Linked DNA regions of Homo sapiens: region 1 is linked to region 2. The links are contacts of gene promoters, found by promoter capture Hi-C in blood cells and fetal thymus (Javierre and others, 2016). All regions are on one chromosome and are shown on one strand. The core of a region is centred on a gene start or on the middle of the fragment in contact, and the rest is flanking DNA. Distances in the headings are between cores, read along the strand shown.

Region 1 (3,762 bases), core at 340-2,839, 410 kb after region 2:
ATCCAATAGACTCTTGATCAATATTACTGGCTGGCTTCTAATTGGCTGGCTATTGAGTGAAACAGGCATTAAGCTAAAAATTATCAGTAACATTACAAATAATAAAATACTCAAAATTATTTTCTTTCTCAGAGAGTCCCTCAGATTTTAGATAATTTGGAAAAAAATATTCTAGGGGATTAATTGCTTTCTTGAACTTCTGGCCTTAAGTGACCTCTCCAGCTTGGCCTCCCAAAGGGCTGAGATTATGGGTATAAACCACTATACCAGTCCAAGGGATTAATAACTGCTTTTTTTTTTAATAACTGCTTTTTAATCCCCACAACTATCAATTGTAAGTTTGAGAAAGGGAATGTATACATACCATGCTGGCTGACAAGGTGAGTACTGAAGCAGATGATATCTCCAACAAAGGTAAGCTTGGTGTCTGGCTCAATGGCATGCTCTACAGCAACAGGAATATAATCTGCCATGCCTGGATGTCTCCGGTCCCAAAGCCCCACAAGTGTCAGCCCTCTGTTCACAGCCTGGGCCATGTAAGTATAGTTCTTATTCCCTGGTCCAATATGCAGCAAGTCATCTCTGCAAGTAGACATTAAAGGTAGAAATCTTTAAAAAGAGACAATAGTTAGAAAATAGTTCTGGAGAACACCCTACCACATTTTATATTCAACAGCTCAGAAGTTCAGAAGGAATTCCACAATAAAGAGTAAGTAAGTATGGGCCAAGGATCAGTCTATTACCTTCATACGTATAGTTCCCAGGAAGGCTTTTTTTTTTTTCCAGTAAAGCCTTTTGATAATAATACTCCAGTTAGCTCCCTATGGATCTTTTAGTGAATTAGAACTTGACAGATTTAAGATATCCTGCATTTTTTCTTAAGTGACAACTAATACCATTGCCTAAGTCTGGTCTTTTTTTTTTTTTTTTTTTTTTAAGACAGTCTTAATTGGTCACCCAGGCTGGGGTGCAGTGGCGCAATCTCTGCTCACTGCAACCTCTGCCTCCTGGGCTCAAGTGATCCTCCCACCTCAGCCTCCCTAGTAGCTGGGACTACAGGCACACGCTACCACACCCAGCTAATTTTTGTATTTTTGTAGAGATGGGGTTTCACCATGTTGTCCAGGCTGGTCTCGAACTCCTGGGCCCAAGTGATCCTCCCTCCTCAGCCTCCCAAAGTGCTGAGGTTACAGGTGTGAGCCACCCACCTGGCCTCACTTAAAAAAATTTTTTTTAACAAAAGAAAGATCAACTTCCAAATTCAGAATGTGAGAGGAATTTACTGGAGCTGCTATATAATACTAGCCTAATATGCAAGATTTCTACCATAGTGTCAATACCATTCCTTTGACTTCCATACCTGTTCAGAGCCAGATAAAGCTGGGTATTGTGTGTGTGGAATTTCTCTCCGATACTATTATAAAACTGAACAGTGAAGGTAAGAGACATGCCCAAGGGAAATGCTGACAGGGTCCTTCCTTGGGCTGTGTATAGCTTGGGTTGGCTGCTCACTCGCAGGTATGTCACCGGTGCTACCTGTGGGAGACAAAACCTACTGGTACAGAGAAAGATGCACTGGAGAAGTGCTGCAACCATATTCTGAGACTTATAATCAATGATAAAGAGTGATGTTTCTTTTCCATAGGAAATAGCTTTTGATGTGAGATGACTTAAGTCAGAGTGAAAAGAAATATGACAGCATAGCAGCATAGGAAATTCTTTTCTTTTTTTTTTGAGACAGAATCTCACTCTGTCACCCAGGCTGGAGTGCAGCGGCATGATTTTGACTCACTGCAACCTCTGCCTCCTGCATTCAAGCAATTCTCCTACCTCAGCCTCCCAGGTAGCTGTGATTACAGGCATCTGCCACCACGCCTGGTTAATTTTTCTATTCTTAGTAGAGATGGGGTTTCACCATGTTGGCCAGGCTGGTCTCAAACTCCTGACCTCAAGTGATCTGCCCGCCTTGGCCTCCCAAAGTGTTGGAATTATAGGCGTGAGCCACTGTGCCCGGCTTGAAATGGGTTTTTAATTTTTTTTTTTTTGAGACGGAATTTTGCTGTCTCGCCCAGGCTGGAGTGCAGTGGTGCAATCTCAACTTACTGCAACCTCCGCCTCCTGGGTTCAAGCAATTCTCTGCCTCAGCCTCCTGAGTAGCTGAGATTACAGGCGCCCGCCACAATGCCCGGCTAATTTTTTTGTATTTTTAGTAGAGATGGGGGTTTCACCATCTTGGCCAGGTTGGTCTTGAACTCCTGACCTCGTGATCCACCCGGCTCGGCCTCCCAAAGTGCTGGGATTGGCGTGAGCCACTGTGCCCAGCCAGGTTTTTAATTTTTAAAGCTGTGGGAATGTGAAGAGAAGCTGGAGCTTTATGAGGAAAGGACTATAATTCATCCATTTCATGCAGAGTGCTCAATATTTATGGTTAAATAATCAATTACTTATCAGGAACACAATCTATATTGTGTTTTCACACTGTAAGAGAGCTGTGATACAGTAAGTGAAGCCCGCGTTTGAATCATAGCTTTATCATTTCATAGCCTCATGTAACTTTTCTGGGTCTCAGGTTTCTTATCAGTTAACAGTTAGATGGGGATAATAATGCCTACCTCATAGGGCTTTTGTGGTAGTTAAAAGAGATAATATACATACAATGACGAACATAGTATATAGTAGATGTTTAATGTCTAAAATTTTTTTTCGTGTTAAGACTAACTTATCTCTGAGGTCTTTTCTCAATTTTTTAATTCTTGTAGCAAAGCTTAATTTTTTAAAAAGAAACAGATTGTTGCTTTGTTTTCCAGGCTGCAGTGCAGCAGTTCAATTGCAGCACAAAGCAGCCTCGAACTCCTAGGTTCGTGTGATCCTCCACCTCAGCCTCCCAAGCAGCTAGGACTGCAGACATGTGCCACCAAGCCCGGCTATTTTTTTTTTTTTTTCATTTTTTGTAGAGATAGGGGTCTCATTATGTTGCTCAGGCTGGTCTTAAACTCTTGGCCTCAAGTGATTCTCCTGCCTCAGCCTTCCAAAGTGCTGGGCTTACAGGCGTGAGTCACCCAGCCCAGCCAATTTTGATAGCAATCATTCTACACTCCTCCGATACCAGTCCTTTTGCCAAAGCTGCTAGGAAGACAATCATATAAATTTAGGCTGATCTGTTTTTTTTTTTTTTTTTTTTTTTTTGAGATGGAGTCTTGCTGTCGCCCAGGTTGGAGTGCAGTGGCGTGATCTTGGCTCACTGCAGGCTCCGCCCCCCGGGGTTCACGGCATTCTCCTGCCTCAGCCTCCTGAGTAGCTGGGACTACAGGCGCCCGCCACCTCGCCCAGCTAATTTTTTGTATTTTTAGTAGAGAAGGGGTTTCACCGTGTTAGCCAGGATGGTCTCGATCTCCTGACCTCGTGATCCGCCTGCCTCAGCCTCCCAAAGTGCTGGGATTACAGGCGTGAGCCACCGTGCCCGGCCAGGCTGATCTGTTTTATAACAAGGGCTCTAAAGTTCATTTTAATTTTATGGCTTATAACCATGTCAAGACTGGCCTCTTATAGGTTCATTTCTGACTCCCAGAGAGTTTCTTCTTCTTCTTCTTCTCCTTTTTTTTTTTTTTTTTCTGGTTCATGTTCTCTCATGATACAGAAGTTTCTAATTCTTTTCTTTTTCTTTTTTTCTTTAATGGCATGATAAGAAAATTTCTAGTTTTTTAAAAAAGAAACTCTGCTTTTTAAGGCCAGGGTATGACTTTTATTTATTTGTTTTTTTTA
Region 2 (3,733 bases), core at 616-3,115:
TGCCTCCTAACCACCCCTAGCATCCCCAGGCTCCTTCCGTCTGGAGCTCCAAACATCCACCACACCGTCCTAAGTCCACCTTCTCTTCTCACCCCACAGACACCTCTGGAGTCTTAAGTTTTTTCCAAGTGTTGGGATGTGTCCCTAGACTCCTGTCCCTCCTGGTCACTGTTCTCTCCAGAGCCTAGCCCACTGTCAAGCCTAAGTATGGATTCTCTGTGTCCCTTCCATCTACCTGGAATTCATTTGCTCACTTAGGCACCATGAGTTTGCTTACTCATTCATTTATTGGCTCATTCATTCACTCTCATTCATTCACTTGCTCATTCAATAATGCATTCACTCTCTTGCACATTCATTCATTCATTCCCTTTTTCATTTACTCATTTGTCCTCTCTAACTTCAATATATAGGGAAGGTGCCATCCGAACTGGGCTGACAATGCCACCTCTATCAGCAAGGCTGTTTCAAATGAAATTTCTCCAGCCTCAGCTGTTCCATTCTCTGCTCCTTCCTGTGTTCTTTCTCCAATTCCACAAGGCCCTCTCCAGGAACAGCTCCCGGAGCATAGTGGGGCCTGCTTGGCCCTGCCTCACCCCTTACCATCCTCACAGGATTCTGCGTCTAACTCTCTTTGTCTCTCTCTCACACACACACACACACACACACACACACACACACCGAGCAAGGACCTCGGCCATTCCTGATCCCCTCTGCTTGGGTGACCCATCACCCTTCCACTCACTTCAGTTCTTGGAGCAAGAAGCCAGCCTCTGAAATTTTTCCAGGCAAGTGAAGTTGGAGGAGTTCAGTGTGGATCTTGCCCCCGCCTCCCCCAACACACACACAGCTACCCCAGCCTCAACAACACTTACTAGAATGTGGGGAAAGGCAGAGCCAGCTCCCCAGCACCCCTGCCCTCACCACCATCCCCACTGGGCTGGGCAGGGGAAGGCTCCCATAGTGCAGGTGGCTCTGCCAAGAAAAGCAGCTCAAGCCGGGGCCTGCCTGGGTCCTGAGGTGGAGGAGCTGCCGAGGTTCAGCCCCCCTCTCTCTATCTTTCCCTCTCCCAGGGAGCTTGCAGGCTCCCCACAGCCTCACTCGGGTTCCTCCCAGATCTCATCATCCCTCTCAAGGAACAGCTCCTGGAACACAGTGGGGTCTGCTTGGGTCGTGAGGTAGAGGGGACGCCACCTCAGCCCCCGCCTCCTCTTCTCGGAATCTCAGGCTCCCTGGAAACTGCCTGGTTCCTTCTGGACCCCATCACCTCCCCTAGGACACAGCTCCCAGAGCCCAGCAAGGCCTGTGTCCAAGCTCTGACCACCCCCAACCCAGACCAACACGCATTTGTCCTCTCCTTTTGGGGAGGATCGAGTAGCTGTGGTCAAAGCTTCCAAATACTCTGCCCCTGGAGAGGAGCTCCGTCAGCTGCTGCGGCAGGGAGGGGGTCTCACCATCCCATCCATCCCTCTAAAGGCCTCACCCAGCCCCCAACCCCCCAGGACTCCCCATTCCTAAACTGGCCTGTGGGAGAAAGTTAATAATTACCAAAATCTTCCTGCCTGCTCTCTGGCAGGCCCCTCTCCCCAGGCCCCCTTCACTGCCCCTTCTCCTGGCCTCCCAATACTGTGGGGCCCTCCGGCAGCCGAAGACCTCCCAGGCCGGGCCCAGGGTGCTCACCTGCTGCCTCAGTCTGCCTCCTCTCCAGCAGGGCTCTGGGGCCTGGGCTCTGGCACTGCCAAGCAGCTCCCTGCGCTCAGCCCAGCCGGGACTCCTCCCCGCTGCACTCCCAGAATCTGTCCCACTCCCTCCCAGCCCTGCCCGCTGAGCTGGCTCGGTGGGGAGATAGTGGCTGAGCTCCTTCTTGACTTGGCCCTGGGGTTGGGCCCTTGTTAAAGGGATACACACCTTTTTTCACACCCCTCTACCCCCATCCCAGAGGGAGTGGTGAAAACTGGCACTCCCCCAACCCCACCCTCCCAGCCCCGCAGGGGCTGAGCAGAACCTGACAGGGTAGAGAAAGGAAGGGAAGGACTATCACCTGCCTTTCTCACCTGGGTCACTGGGATCCCAGTTTCAGGGGCTCCCAACAGACAAGTTCAGTTAACATTCCAGGCCAGCCTAACTGGCCACAGAAACCTCCTTGCCACTGGGGTTTCAGGAGTAACGCCCGACTTCTGTGCTCAAATCAGAAGGCAGATGCCAGGGACCTGTCTGGCTCCCTGGTCTTCTGTCTCTAGTCTGACCCATCAGCTCTACTGAGACCCAGCCCTAAGATCCCTCATGTACACCAGAAGACTCCTCTGGAAACTCCCCACACCCCACCGTTTCCCTAAGATACCCAAGGAAACTGGCCAGCTCGACCTCCCTACACTAGGGCAGCAGCTGAAACCAAAGAGGGGCCCACTTGCCCACTCCAGCGGGAATGATATTGGGTCACTGGGCACTCACCATGTGTCAGGCTCTCTGTAAGTGCTTTACATGATGTGTGGCATTGTCCTCCTGGCAATCCTGTGGAAGTAATATTCATATCCCCCATTTTACAGATGAGGAAACTGATACTAAGAGCATGCCCAAAATTCCAATGATAAGTGGCAGATCTGAGATTCAAACTCAGGCCAGTCAGCCTGTTTCTAACCGCCCCCCACCCCCACCCACCCCATTTCCCTGGTTGTGCCAGCCAGGGCTCAGAACACCTGGACTAATATCCTTTTCCCCAAGTGTGCACACATACCCTCCTCTCCTATAAGAGGGCCCGCCCATTGGCAAAGAGGAGCCTGTCCCTCAGAGAGGACCATGTTGCCCTTTTGGACCTGGTACCACCCTCAACCCAAACCCATAGGGAAAAGTGAGTCCCCATTCACTTCCACAGCCAACCACTCCAGCCCCACGTGCCCCACCCTACCAATGACTTTGCCTTTCACCCCCAAGCTCCTCTCACCCGTGGACCCTCAGGGAGGGGGTGTCCAGTCAAGACAACATGTTTCACTTTTTTCATTTTTTTTTATTAATCAAATGATACAAAACAACCATCATTCTGTCAATGCCCAAGCACCCAGCTGGTCCTCTCCCCACATGTCACACTCTCCTCAGCCTCTCCCCCAACCCTGCTCTCCCTCCTCCCCTGCCCTAGCCCAGGGACAGAGTCTAGGAGGAGCCTGGGGCAGAGCTGGAGGCAGGAAGAGAGCACTGGACAGACAGCTATGGTTTGGATTGGGGAAGAGATTAGGAAGTAGGTTCTTAAAGACCCTTTTTTAGTACCAGATATCCAGCCATATTCCCAGCTCCATTATTCAAATCATTTCCCATAGCCCAGCTCCTCTCTGTTCTCCCCCTACTACCAATTCTTTGGCTCTTACACAATTTTTATCCCTCAAATATTCATCCCTGGCCCAACCAGTCCCCTGAGCCTCCCTCTGGTGGAGACTCCTCCACCCATGAGCTCCCCAGAGCATCCAAGACAGAGTGCACAGAGACCTGGGGAAGGAAGCTGAACTTTGCAGAGATGAGGACAGGTGCAGGCTAGGGTACAGGGTGGTGGTAGAGGAGACAAGTTTTATCTCCAGGCCCACAGTCTCTCCCCAACACCCCCCAAGAATTCCAGAGGGAGTTCTCAGTGCCCCCGGACAGGCCTCTCCAGCTTCACACTCTTGGCCGCTTCTCCAATCAGCTCCCAGAAACTCCTGAACTCCAGTTTAGAGTCATTGCAGCTGCCCAGGTTGGCAATTTTCTC

What was found. The method cuts DNA at HindIII sites, captures the fragments that hold promoters and counts their contacts. A CHiCAGO score of 5 or more calls a contact.
Region 1: a contact is called between a fragment that was not itself captured here and the fragment with the promoter of S100A16 in region 2, in 4 of 17 cell types (total B cells, fetal thymus, naive B cells and 1 more). The highest score is 6.1, in total B cells.

The regions. Positions count from the first base shown.
Region 1 is chr1:154,021,762-154,025,523 of GRCh38, forward strand. It overlaps NUP210L (nucleoporin 210 like), which reads right to left. Exons shown (of 40, transcript NM_207308.3): 31 at 1,361-1,536; 32 at 365-582. Among named protein-coding and RNA genes, the nearest start is that of RPS27, 33 kb to the left of the region's middle. The HindIII fragment of the contact is 2,345 bases long and covers 418-2,762 here.
Region 2 is chr1:153,611,272-153,615,004 of GRCh38, forward strand. It overlaps S100A16 (S100 calcium binding protein A16), which reads right to left and starts at 1,866. Exons shown (of 3, transcript NM_080388.3): 1 at 1,681-1,866. It overlaps S100A14 (S100 calcium binding protein A14), which reads right to left. Exons shown (of 4, transcript NM_020672.3): 4 at 2,984-3,733. The coding sequence ends at 3,614. The HindIII fragment of the contact is 6,157 bases long and covers 1,389-3,733 here.